2 separate regions of the Homo sapiens genome follow, and region 2 is linked to region 1. Evidence: promoter capture Hi-C in human tissues and cell types (Jung and others, 2019). All regions are on one chromosome and are shown on one strand. The core of a region is centred on a gene start or on the middle of the fragment in contact, and the rest is flanking DNA. Distances in the headings are between cores, read along the strand shown.

What was found. The method cuts DNA at HindIII sites, captures the fragments that hold promoters and counts their contacts. A contact is called where the count stands out against the background at its distance.
Region 2: a fragment that was not itself captured here is called in contact with the fragment with the promoter of RDH16 in region 1 in 4 of the 25 tissues and cell types used here (H1 embryonic stem cells, adrenal gland, mesenchymal stem cells and 1 more).

The regions. Positions count from the first base shown.
Region 1 is chr12:56,954,189-56,961,247 of GRCh38, forward strand. It overlaps RDH16 (retinol dehydrogenase 16), which reads right to left and starts at 3,420. Exons shown (of 4, transcript NM_003708.5): 1 at 2,962-3,420; 2 at 718-976. The coding sequence starts at 3,274. The HindIII fragment of the contact is 7,259 bases long and covers 1-5,683 here.
Region 2 is chr12:56,887,306-56,894,364 of GRCh38, forward strand. No RefSeq gene overlaps it. Among named protein-coding and RNA genes, the nearest start is that of SDR9C7, 44 kb to the right of the region's middle. The HindIII fragment of the contact is 5,339 bases long and covers 1,640-6,978 here.

The DNA.
Region 1 (7,059 bases), core at 2,170-4,669:
GACTCAGTGAGTGCTCTTGCGTCTGCATGAGCTTGTGTGTGTCCGCGGCCCTAAGGCATGCCCCAGGTTTACAAGTATTTCAGATTCCTGGGAGGAGGGGTTGGGGTCCTTCTACTACAGCAAGAGAGGGGTGTTAGCAAGCCACATGCCCAGTGTCAGCTGCTGGGAGAGCCTCCCTGGCTAGGGGACCAACACACACTGCTGTAGCTGATCTTTCTCTGCTCCTTCTCTAGGGTGCAAAGCATTCTTCCATCCAGCACTGACTGCCTGGTCTGCCTTTGTGGCTCCAATACCAAGGTGCAATGGGAAGAAGTGTTTAGGGTCCTTCCCTGGGATTAGTCATTGATACACAGTGTTCCCCTGTCCTGGGCTTGGTAACCTCAGTACTGTGTTCCTCTTGGTAGGATCTGAAGCCAAAGATCCAGGTCCAATTCTGCCTCTGGCAGTTTCTGACCAAGAGATCCATCCAGGGAAGAGGTATCGTTCAAGAAACTCTCTGACCTGGGGCCCCTCCTGTCGCCCAGCACTCAGGAAGGTGCTTCCCAGTGAATGGCCAGCCCAATCCAGAAAGAGGAAGATGAGGGTGTCACACATGAAGACAGAGAGTGATCTCATGAAAGGAACTTACAGGCTGGGATTCAAGGAACTCCCTGGAAAAGACTTCCCCACAAGGACAGGAGCAGGAAGACTAGGGTGGGCCCCATCCCAGACCCATACCTGAGGGAGTCAGAGAAGGCTTCCACGCCATACTTGGAGATGCAGTAGCCTCCACCAAAAAGTGACACCCGGCCCATGACACTGGAGACGTTGACCACACGGCCCCTGGCCCTCCTCACTAAGGGCAGCAGGCTCAGAGTCACATCAATCACCCCCAACAAGTTCACGTCCAGTATGGTCACGAAGTCCTGCTTGGTGAGCAACTCATTGGGAGCCGTGGGCAAGGAGATGCCAGCATTATTCACCAGGCCCCAGAGTCCTGGGACAGTGGGAAGATGAGAGAGCATCACTGTGTTGTGCCTGTGCAGGTGGACAGAGTTAGGGTGCAAATCACATCCCAATAAAGTGAGGGCAGACTGACAGGTGTGGGATGGGGAGGAGGGTATAACAAACACCACAGTATCACAGGGGTGGGGGCTGAGCATTCAGCAGCTGGTGGGCCACAAAACCCAGGTCTTTCTCCATTTACTCTTCATGGACCAGCCTACTGCCTGAAAGACAATAAGCTATTACCCCTATTTAAGGACTGCATGAAATCATGTTAAAGAACTATTGTCCATGCATTAGTCTGGAAACATGAAGACCAATGTTTGGTTAGTTAAACATGAATGTTGCAGACATTACAGACATACAGCTGCATTTTCAGGTGTGCTAACACCTTATATAGTGATTGTCCAGCAACTATCTGTTGATGGAATAAGAGACAAGAAAGAGGGAGAGTGAGGGAGACAGGAAAGAGAGAAAGAGACAGACCTGAAATCCTAGGCTTGGGGGAACTTGGGAAACATCCTGTTTCCCAAGTGTTTGAACTCAGGGCACTGGTCTTGAAACATCCTGCATCAGTAACATTTTTATAGAAAGCACAGGGGAATTCCAATGCACAGGCTTTGGGAAGAAAGCAAGGTTGCGTCACCCCACTCAGTACACAGACTCCACCCTCTGCCCCAGAAAATGTCACCCTCTCCTCCTACTGCATCAGAAGCCCACTCTTCATCCTTCCCTTTAGTCCCAAGTTCACCCAGCTCTGGGAAAATCTCTCTGGAAGATGCAAATACACAATCCCCAGGACTTCAAGTCAATAGAGTTTTCAACCCACAGAGCTAGGGGGCAGGAGCACAGGGTCCCTTGAGTCCAGGCAGGGGGTGGCAGTTGTTGATCTGGAAGGGTTGGCCCAGGCATATGAACCTGTCCCCTGCTCAATAACAGGCCCTGCCCTGATGCAAATGCAGATTCCTCCACCCAGACATCTCATTTTTAAGAATCCAATCAATACTCACACTTACAGAGACGTTGGCAAATAAAAGTCCACCAAGATGACATTTATGATGAATAAAAAGCAGGAAGGAATTTCATATCCAACCACTCAGTATGGATTACATAGGTAAGGCTATTGGAAGGATACAGTATTCTAAATAATTAAATATAATTTTATAAAAACAGTCATTATGGTGGAAAAGTGTTCATCTTCTCCAGAGAATTTAAGGTGACTGAAACTAAGAACAAAATATAAAATCCTAATTTTGTATAATTGTAAAAAGGACTTATGTGTGGATGACAATTTCAGGGAAACTTGTTTTCATCTTTATTCTTTTCAGTGTTTTCCACAAAGATCATATTCTGATTTATTGTTACATAAAATAAATCCATGTTTCTTTCTTCCTCTATAATAAGACAGATGAATTAGTGTAGTGAAAAGAAGAAAGAAAGAAAAAGTAACCCCTTACTAGTTCTGCCTTCCTTAAGCAGTCCTTAAGCTGATACTCTCCTCTGAAGATGGAGATGATCGTAGCTCTCAGTGGACGCTGATGGGCCCTAGCAAAAACAAGGTAAAGTGCTGGGAACATAAGCCTGGCTCCAGCACAGGCACAGCCTCCGTGCACACTTGCAGCCCTGTGCTCCCTTCTCAACGATGCTCCAGCAAGTCTCCAGATCTCTAACCCAGGCTCTTAGCATCAAACAACACATGACTTCTGCTTAGACAGGAGGGAGAGGATAGAGAGGAATTCTGGAGAGAAAATCTCATCAGGGCAAACTCTCCCCAAGACTAGACACCTCCAATGTCGGGAGAGGTTAAGGATTGAAAAGAGATGGGGTTCAGGCAGCCTGTTAAGTGAGAAATATTAGAAAGCTACTGTTACTTCAACCTGGAAAGACACTGTAGGAATCTTCCCAGGGAGCAGACAGGAGGTGGTCCCTTCACACAGAGGGAAGACACAGACAGACTTGACAAACCTGGGTGGTTACCTTTGTCTCTCACGCACTCCTTCACCCACTGGGCGGCTGCAGCAACGCTCTCTGTCTTGGTAACATCCAGGGTCACCGTCTCCAGCCTGTCTGAAGTCTGGCCCCTCAGCTGCTCGGCTCCTTTCTCCGTCAGACATGCAGCCAGCACCCGCAAGCCTCGTGCATCCAGCTGTCTGGCCAGCAGTTTCCCGAAGCCAGAGTCACAGCCCGTGATGAACACATACTTATCTCTCAGGTGGCTCAGCACCTGCCTCTCCCGGTACCAGTGCAGAAGGTAGTACAGGCCCACGAAAACCGCCAGGTAGAGCCACATGGCTTTGCAGAGGACAGACACAGACAGGCTGTGGGGGAAACCAGAGTCTGGCCTCTGTTCAGACAGGAGGATTTAAGAACACAGAGGGCTGTGGTAGGCAGGGAAGCCCTCAGGCATTTTGGCAGGGAATCCTCACTTTCCTCCCTGATGACTGCCTTTCTGCAACATATTTATTCTGGCCCCACCTCTCTGCTCTTTGAACTGCTTTTGCAGTACTCATGCACACCTTTGCACACCTCAAGTCCTGCCCAGTAGGAAGATACTATCTTCCTACTGGGCAATGTGCCCCTAGTCTCCTGATTTCTCTCTGCCTTGCTATGCCCACTACATGCATGCTGTGTCCATGAAGGAGCACACACATATATTCACACAGGAACATACACAGAACTCACACAGGCTTACACACAGCTGCCCACACACACTCTCCATGGCAAACACACCCCTCTGCTCTAAGTACAGGGGTCAAAACTGTCTCTACAAAGCTCCGATACCAACACTCCTGGTCCATGACCTTCTGAACATAGAAAGGCCTTATTGGGTAGCTACCCATGGTTTCCAGGCACATTAGGTGGAAATCCCTCTCTGAGCCTGAGTTTCCTCATCCTGCTCCGCACCCCAGAATCAATCACTCCTCTGAAAACTAGGGCACGGTCAGGCTGTCTAGGATGAGAAGGAGAAGGCAAAGAGTGAGCAGGAACAGGTTCCCTCCTGCTATAATAGTTTTTTGGGGCAGAAGGATTGCAGGATCCCACAGGGAGAATCCAACCTCAGAGGTAAAGAAAGCAGGGAGAGGATGGGCAAATAGGAACAGCTCCGGTCTGCAGCTCCCAGTGTGACTGATGCAGAAAATGGGTGATTTCTGCATTTCCAGCTGAGGTACCTGGTTCATCTCACTGGGACTGGTTGGACAGTGCGTGCAGCCCACAGAGGGTGAGCCGAAGCAAGGCAGGGCATTGCCTTACCCAGGAAGTGTAAGAGGTCAGGGGATTTCCCTTTCCTAGACAAGGGAAGCCGTGACAGACTGTACCTGGAAAAACAAGACACTCCTGCTCAAATACTGCACTTTTCCAATGGTCTTAGCAAATGGCACACCAGGAGATTATATCCTGTGCCTGGTTTGGTGGGTCCCATTCCCACAGAGCTTTGCTCACTGCTAGTGCAGTAGTCTGAGATCAACCTGCAAGGCAGCAGCCTGGCAGGAGGAGGGTTGCTCACCATTGCTGAGGCTTGAGTAGGAAAGCAAAGCAGCTGGGCAGCTCAAACTGGGCGAAGCCCACTGCAGCAAGGCAAGGCTTTCTGCCTCTATAGACTCCACCTCTGGGAGCAGTGCATAACTGAACAAAAGGCAGCAGAAACCTCTGCAGACTTAAACATCCCTGTCTGACAGCACTGAAGAGAGCAGTGGTTCTCCCAGCATGGTGTTTGAGCTCTTAGAACAGACAGACTGCCTTCTCAAATGGGTCCCTGAACCCTGTGTAGACTAACTGGGAGACACCTCCCAGTAGGGGCCGACTGACATCTCATACAGGTGGGTGCCCCTCTGGGACGAAGTTTCCAGAGGAAGGATCAGGCAACAATATTTGCTGTTCTGCAATATTTGCTGTTCTGCAGCCTCTGCTGGTGATACCCAGGCAAACAGGGACTGGAGTGGACCTCCAGCAAACTCCAACAGACCTGCAGCTGAGGAAACTGTTTGAAGGAAAACTAACAAACAGAAAGAAATAGCTCAAAATCAACAAAAAGGACATCCACACCAAAACCCCATCTGTAGGTCGCCAACATCAAACACCAAAGGTAGATAAAACCACAAAGATGGGGAGATACCAGAGCAGAAAATCTGAAAATTCAAAAAACCAGAGTGCCTCTTCTCCTCCAAAGGATCACAGCTCCTTGCCAGCAACAGAAAAAAGCTGGATGAAGAATGACTTTGATGAGTTGACAGAAGTAGGCTTCAGAAGGTCAGAGTAACAAAATTCTCTGAGCTAAAGGAGGATGTTGGAACCCATCACAAGGAAGCTAACAGTCTTGAAAAAAAGATTAGATGAATGGCTAACTAGAATAAACAGTGTAGATAAGTCCTTAAATGACCTGATGGAGCCGAAAACCATGGCATGAGAACTACAGGATGCATGCATAAGCTTCAATAGCCAATTTGCTCAAGTGGAAGAAAGAATATCAGTGATTGGAGATCAAATTAATGAAATAAAGTGAGAAGAGAAGTTTGGAGAAAAAAGAGAAAAAGAAGTGAACAAAGCCTCCAAGAAATATGGAACTATGTGAAAAAACCAAACCTACGTTTGACTGCTGTACCTGAAAGTGACGGGCAGAATGAAACCAAGTTGGAAAATACTCTTCAGGTTATTATCCAGGAGAACTTCCCCAATCTAGCAAGGCAGGCCAACATTCAAATTTGGGAAATACAGAGAACACCACAAAGATACTCTTCAAGAAGAGGAACCCTAAGACATATAATTGTCATATTCACGAAGGTTGAAATGAAGGAAAAAATGTTAAGGGCAGCCAGAGAGAAAGGTCAGGTTACCTACAAAGGGAAGCCCATCAAACTAACAGTGGATCTCTCAGCAGAAACTCTACAAGCCAGAAGAGAGTGGGGGCCAATGTTCAACATTCTTAGAGAAAAGAATTTTCAACTCAGAATTTCATATCCAGCCAAACTAAGCTTCATAAGTGAAGGAGAAATAAAATTCTTTACAGACAAACTAATGCTGAGAGATTTTGTCACCGCCAGGCCTGCCTTACAAGAGCTCCTGAAGGAAGCACTAAACATGGAAAGAAACAACCAGTACCAGCCACTGCAAAAACATGCCAAATTGTAAAGACCATTGATGCTAGGAAGAAACTGCATCAACTAACGAGCAAAATAACCAGCTAACATCATAATGACAGGATCAAATTCACACATAACAATATTAACCTTAAATGTAAAAGGGCTAAATGCCCCAATTAAAAGACACAGACTGGCAAATTAGATAAAGAATCAAGACCCATCAGTGTGCTGTATTCAGGAAACCCATCTCACATGCAGAGACACACATAGGCTCAAAATAAAGGGATGGAGGAAGATCCACCAAGCAAATAGAAAGCAAAAAAAGAAAAAAAAAGCAGGGATTGCAATCCTACTCTCTGATAACACAGATTTTAAACCACCAAAGATCAAAAGAGACAAAGAAGGCCATTACATAACAGTAAAGGGATCAATTCAACAAGAAGAGCTAACTATCCTAAATATATATGTACCCAATACAGGAGCACCCAGATTCATAAAGCAAGTCCTTAGAAACCTACAAAGAGACTTAGACTCCCCAATAATAATGGGAGATTTTAACACTCCACTGTCAATATTAGACAGATCAATGAGACAGAAGGTTAAAAAGGATATCCAGGACTTGAACTCAGCTCTGCACCAAGCGGACCTAATAGACATCTACAGAACTCTCCACCCCAAATCAACAGAATATACATTCTTCTCAGCACCACATCACACTTATTCCAAAATTGACCACATAGTTGGAAGTAAAGCACTCCTCACCAAATGTAAAAGAACAGAAATCACAACAAACTGTCTCTCAGACCACACTGCAATCAAATTAGAACTCAGGACTAAGAAACTCACTCAAAACCACACAACGACATGGAAACTAAACAACCTGCTTCTGAATCACTACTGGGTACATAACGAAATGAAGGCAGAAATAAAGATGTTCTTTGAAACCAATGAGAACAAAGACACAATGTACCAGAATCTCTGGGACACATTTACAGCA
Region 2 (7,059 bases), core at 3,059-5,558, 66 kb before region 1:
CATGATAGTGAGTGAGTTCTCATGAGATCTGTTTAAAAGTGTGTAGCACCTCCCCCTTCATCCTCTTCCTCCTTCTCTGGCCATGTAAGATGTGCCTGTTTCCCCTTCACCTTCTGCTGTGATTGTAAGTTTTCTGAGACCTCCCTGGACCATGCTTCTTGTACAGTCTGCAGAACTCTGAGTCAATTAAACCTCTTTTCTTTATAAATAACCCAGTCTCAGGTAGTTCTTTATAGCAACATGAGAATGGACTAATACAGACTGGATGTGCGAATTAGGGGCACCCACTATAAGGCGGGGGTAGTGGGTTGTGTGAGGCATCCCCATGCAGCATAGGGGCATTTAAAAGGGCTTCTAATAAATGTTCCCCATCATTGTGAGAAAATTCTTGCTATATGTCTACAGCTATAAATATTCTTATCCCAATCAAAATCTCAGGTTTATATCCAAGTTCAGCCACTTTAAAAGGCAATGTCAAATTATTTGGAATGAAATAATTTTCTCTTTATTGGGTAAATGTCTGAGGAGATTTATAATAGAGTATAGAAATGGTAATGTATAGAGACAGTCAAGTAAACCAAACCCTGAATTATTATTTTGAATTAAATTTGGAAATGATTTATACAGTATTTTAAGTATTTAAAAATAAAAGAGAATGTGGCATATTATGAACAATTTCACATAATAGATTATCAAACACATTTGCTTTCTAATTCCAATTTTTAAATGTATAATGAGTATTCAATTAGATTTGTGATTTTAAGATAAAAGAAAATTGTGCTATATTATAAATCATATTAGAAAGTTTAAGATAACATGGCTTTGCCATATTTATATGTTGTATTACTTGATTTATAAGGCTTATTTAGGGTTTATCAGTCATACAATTGATAATTGTATTTATTTATTTTCTTTTGTTTACAATTCTATTAAAGACATACTTTAAAAGAAAATTAAATATGTTAAATTTATGAACACAGTTTATGTTTTTAAAGTGAGTTTAATTAACACAATGAAATATTAATTTAAGTTCCCCTTAAGAAATTGATAACATTGGGGTGGAGCCCACCACAGCTCAACGAGACCTCCCTGCCTCTGTAGACTCCACCTCTGGGGGTAGGGCATAGCTGAACAAAAGGCAGCAGAAACTTCTGCAGACTTAAACTTCCCTGTCTGACAGCACTGAAGAGAGAGCAGTGGTTCACCCAGCACAGTGTTTGAGCTCTGAGAACAGACAGACTGCCTCCTCAAGTGGGTCCCTGACCCCCGTGTAGCCTAACTGGGAGACACCTCCCAGTAGGGGCCGACTGACACCTCATACAAGCAGGTGCCTCTCTGAGACAAAGCTTCCAGAGGAAGGATTAGACAGCAATATTTGCTGTTCTGCAATATTTGCCATTCTTCAGCCTCTGCTGGTGATACACAGGCAAACAGGGTCCGGAGTGGACCTCCGAAAAACTCCAAAAGACCTGCAGCTGACGGACCTTTTAGAAGGGAAACTAACAAACAGAAAGGAATAGTACCAACATCAACAAAAAGGACATCCGCACCAAAAACCCATCTGTAGGTCACCAACATCAAAGACCAAAGGTAGATAAAACCATGAAGATGGGGAGAAACCAGAGCAGAAAAGCTGAAAATTCTAAAAGCCAGAGGGACTCTTCTCCTTCAAAGTACCACAGCTCCTCGCCAGCAATGGAACAAGGCTGGATGGAGAATGACTTTGATGAGTTGACAGAAGTAGGCTTCTGAAGGTCGGTAATAACAAACTTCTCCGAGCTAAAGGAGGATGTTCAAATCCATCACAAGGAAGCTAAAAACTGAAAAAAGATTAGACAAATGACTAACTAGAATAAACAGTGTAGAGAAGACCTTAAATGACCTGATGAAGCTGAAAACCATGGCACAAGAACTATGTGATGCATGCACAAGCTTTAGTAGCCGATTCAATCAAGTGGAAGAAAGCGTATCAGTGATTGAAGATCAAATGAATGAAATGAAGCGAGAAGAGAAGCTTAGAGAAAAAAGAATAAGAAGAAATGAACAAAGCCTCCAAGAAATATGGGACTATGTGAAAGGACCAAATCTACATTTGATTGGTGTACCTGAAAGTGACAGGAAGAAGGGAACCAAGCTGGAAAACACTCTTCAGGATATTATCCAGGAGAACTTCCCCAACCTAGCAAGGCAGGCCAACATTCAAATTCAGGAAATACAGAGAACACCACAAAGATACTCCTTGAGAAGAGCAACCCCAAGACACATAATTGTAAGATTCACCAAGGTTGAAATGAAGGAAAAAACGTTAAGGGCAGCCAGAGAGAAAGGTTGGGTTACCCACAAAGGGAAGCCCATCAGACTAACAGCAGATCTCTCCACAGAAACTCTACAAGCCAGAAGAGAGCGGGGACCAATATTCAACATTCTTAAAGAAAAGAATTTTCAACCCAGAATTTCATATCCAGCCAAACTAAGCTTCATAAGTGAAGGAGAAATAAAATCCTTTACAGACAAGCAAATGCTGAGAGATTTTGTCACCACCAGGCCTGCCTTACAAGAGCTCCTGAAGGAAGCACTAAACATGGAAAGGAACAACTGGTACCAGCCACTGCAAAAACATGCCAAATTGTAAAGGCCATCAATGCTAGGAAGAAACTGCATCAACTAATGGGCATAATAACCAGCTAACATCATAATGACATGATCAAATTCACACATAACAATATTAACCTTAAATGTAAATGGGCTAAAAGCCCCAATTAAAAGACACAGACAGGAGATTGGATTAAAAAATCAAGACTCATCAGTTTGCTGTATTCAGGAGATCCATCTCATGTGCAGAGACACACATGGGCTCAAAATAGAGGGATGGAGGAAGATCTACCAAGCAAACGAAAAGCAAAAAAAAAAAAAAAAAAACCAAAAAAAAAACAGGGGTTGCAATCCTAGTCTCTGATAAAACAGACTTTAAACCAACAAAGATCAAAAGAGACAAAGAAGGCCCTTACATAATGGTAAAGGGATCAATTCAACAAGAAGAGCTAACTATCCTAAATATATATGCACCCAATACAGGAGCACCCAGATTCATAAAGCAAGTCCTTAGAGACCTAAAAAGAGACTTAGACTCCAACACAATAATAACGGGAGACTTTAACACCCCACTGTCAAGATTAGACAGATCAACGAGACAGAAGGTTAACAAGGATATCCATGACTTGAACTCAGCTCTGCACCAAGCTGACCTAATAGACGTCTACAGAACTCTCCACCCCAAATCAACAGAATATACATTCCTCTCAGCACCACATCACACGTATTCCAAAATTGACAACATAGTCGGAAGCAAAGCACTCCTCGGCAAATGTAAAAGAACAGAAATCACAACAAACTGTCCCTCAGACCACAGTGCAATCAAATTAGAACTCAGGATTAAGAAACTTACTCAAAACCACTCAACTACATGGAAACTGAACAACCTGCTCCTGAATGACTACTGGCTAAAAAACGAAATGAAGGCAGAAATAAAGATGGTCTTTGAAACTGATGAGAACAAAAACACAATGTACCAGAATCTTTGGGACACATTTAAAGCAGTATGTAGAGGGAAATTTATAGCACAAAATGCCCACAAGAGAAAGCAGGAAAGATCTAAAATCAACATCCTAACATCACAATCAAAAGAACTAGACAAGCAAGAGCAAACAAATGGAAAAGCTTGCAGAAGGCAGGAAATAACTAAGAGCAGAGCAGAACTGAAGGAGATAGAGACACAAAAACCCTTCAAAAAATCAATGAATCTAGGAGCTGGTTTTTTGAAAAGATCAACAAAATTGATAGACCGCTAGCAAGACTAATAAAGAAGAAAAGAGAGAAGAATCAAATAGACACAATAAAAATGAGAAAGGGGATATCAGCACTGATCCCACAGAAACACAAACTACCATCAGAGAATACTATAAACACCTCTACACAAATAAACTACAAAATCTAGAAGAAACGGATACATTCCAGGACACACATACCCTCCCAGACTAAACCAGGAAGAACTTGAATCCCTGAATAGACCAATAACAGACTCTGAAATTGAGGCAATAATTAACAGCCTATCAACCAAAAAAAAGTCCAGGACCAGATGGATTCACAGCCGAATTCTACCAGAGGAAGAAAGAGGAACTGGTACCATTCCTTATAAACCTATTCCAATCAATAGAAAAAGAGGTAATTCTCCCTAACTCATTTTATGAGGCCAGCATCATCCTGATACCAAAGCCTGGCAGAGACACAACAAAAAAAGAGAATTTTAGACCAATATCCCTGATGAACATTGATGTGAAAATCCTCAATAAAATACTGGCAAACCAAATCTAGCAGCACATCAAAAAGCTTATCCAACAAGACCAATTTGGCTTTATCCCTGAGATGCAAGTCTGGTTCAACATATGCAAATCAACAAACATAATCCATCACACAAACAGAACCAAACACAAAACCACATGATTATCTCAATAGATGCAGAAAAGGCCTTTGACAAAATTCAACAGCCCTTCATGCTAAAAACTCAATAAACAAGGTATTGATGGGATGTATTTCAAAATAATAAGAACTATTTATGACAAACCCACAGCCAATATCATACTGAATGGGCAAAAACTGGAAGCATTCCCTCTGAAAACTGGCACAAGGCAGGGACGCCCTCTCTCACCATTCCTTTTCAACACAGTGTTGGAAGTTCTGGCCAGGGCAATCAGGCAACAGAAAGAAATAAAGGGCATTCACCTAGGAAAAGAGGAAGTCAAATTGTCCCTGTTTGCAGACGACATGATTGTATATTTAGAAAAACCCATCGTCTCAGCCCAAAATCTCCTCAAGCTGATAAGCAAATTCAGCAAAGTCTCAGGATACAAAATCAATGTGCAAAAATAACAAGCATTCCTATATACCAATAACAGACAAACTGAGAGCCAAATCATAAGTGAACTCCCATTCACAATTGCTACAAAGGATTAAAATACCTAGGAATCCAACTTACAAGGGATGTGAAGGACCTCTTCAAGGAGAACTACAAACCACGGCTCAATGAAATAAAAGAGGATACAAACAAATGGAAGAACATTCCATGGTCATGAATAGGAAAAGTCAATATCATGACAATGGCCATACTGCCTAGGGTAATTTATAGATTCAATGCCATCCCCATCAAGCTACCAATGACTTTCTTCACAGAATTGGAAAAAACTACTTTAAAGTTCATATGGAACCAAAAAAGAGCCCACATTGCCAAGACAATCCTAAGCCAAAAGAACAAAGCTGGAGGCATCATGCTACCTGACTTCAAACTATACTACAAGGCTACAGTAACCAAAACAGCATGGTACTGGTACCAAAACAGACATATAGACCAATGGAGCAGAACAGAGCCCTTAGAAATAACACCACACATCTAAAACCATCTGATCTTTGACAAACCTGACAAAAACAAGAAATGGGGAAAGGATTCCCTATTTAATAAATGGTGCTGGGAAAACTGGCTAGCCATATGTAGAAAGCTGAAACTGGATCCCTTCCTTACACCTTATACAAAAATTAATTCAAGATGGATTAAAGACTTCAACGTTAGACCTAAAACCATAAAAACCCTAGAAGAAAACCTAGGCTATACTATTCAGTACATAGGCATGGGCAAGGACTCCATGACTAAAACACCAAAAGCAATGGCAACAAAAGCCAAAATTGACCAATGGTATCTAATTAAACTAAAGAGCTTCTGCACAGCAAAATAAACTATCATCAGTGTGAACAGGCAACCTACAGAATGGGAGAAAATTTTTGCAATCTATCCATTAGACAAAGGGCTAATATCCAGAATCTACAAAGAACTTAAACAAATTTACAAGAAAAAATCAAACAACCCCATCAAAAAGTGGGCAAAGGATATGAACAGACACTTCTCAAAAGAAGACATTTATGCAGTGAAGAGACACATGAAAAAATGCTTATCTTCACTGGCCATCAGAGAAATGCAAATCAAAACCACAATGAGATACCATCTCACACCAGTTAGAATGGCGATCATTAAAAAGTCAGGAAACAACAGGTGCTGGAGAGGATGTGGAGAAATAGGAACACTTTTACACTGTTGGTGGGACTGTAAACTAGTTCGACTGTTGTGGAAGACAGTGGCAATTCCTCAAGGATCTAGAACTAGAAATACCGTTTGACCCAGCCATCCCATTACTGGGTATATACCCAAAGGACTATAAATCATGCTACTATAAAGACACATGCACATGTATGTTTATTGCGGCACTATTCACAACAGCAAAGACTTGGAACCAACCCAAATGTCCATCAGTGATTGACTGCATTAAGAAAATGTGGCACATATAGACCATGGAATACTATACAGCCATAAAAAAGGATGAGTTCATGTCCTTTGTAGGGACATGGATGAAGCTGGAAACCATCATTCTCAGCAAACTATCGCAAGGATAGAAAACCAAACACCGCATGTTCTCATTCATAAGTGGGAATTGAACAATGAGAACACTTGGACACAGGATGGGGAACATCACACACTGGGGTCTATCGTGGGGTAGGGGGAGGGGGAGGGATACCATTAGGGGAGATACCTAATGTAAATGACGAGTTAATGGGTGCAGCACACCAACATGGCACATGTATACATATGTAACAAACCTGCACATTGTGCACATGTACCCTAGAACTTAAAGTACAATAAAAAAAAAAGAGTCAAAGTGAACAATATGGCAGCTCATATAGAAATCATGCTAGAATAAGAGCTTCTCAATCCTAATATGATTTAATTACTAAGTCTTGGTAGCATATGCATTGATGTATTTTTTGTCAGGTTTAAATTAAATGTTCACTATCAAAAAAAAGAAATTGATAATATTTGCTAAATTGTATAAATAAAATAAAATAGATTAAACAAATTATGAAAAAATATGTTTTTAGTTGTAAGTTTAACAAATCAAACATTAATTTTAATAATCAAAGTATCCCCAGAAAAGATTTTCCTACTCATAAATGTCCTGC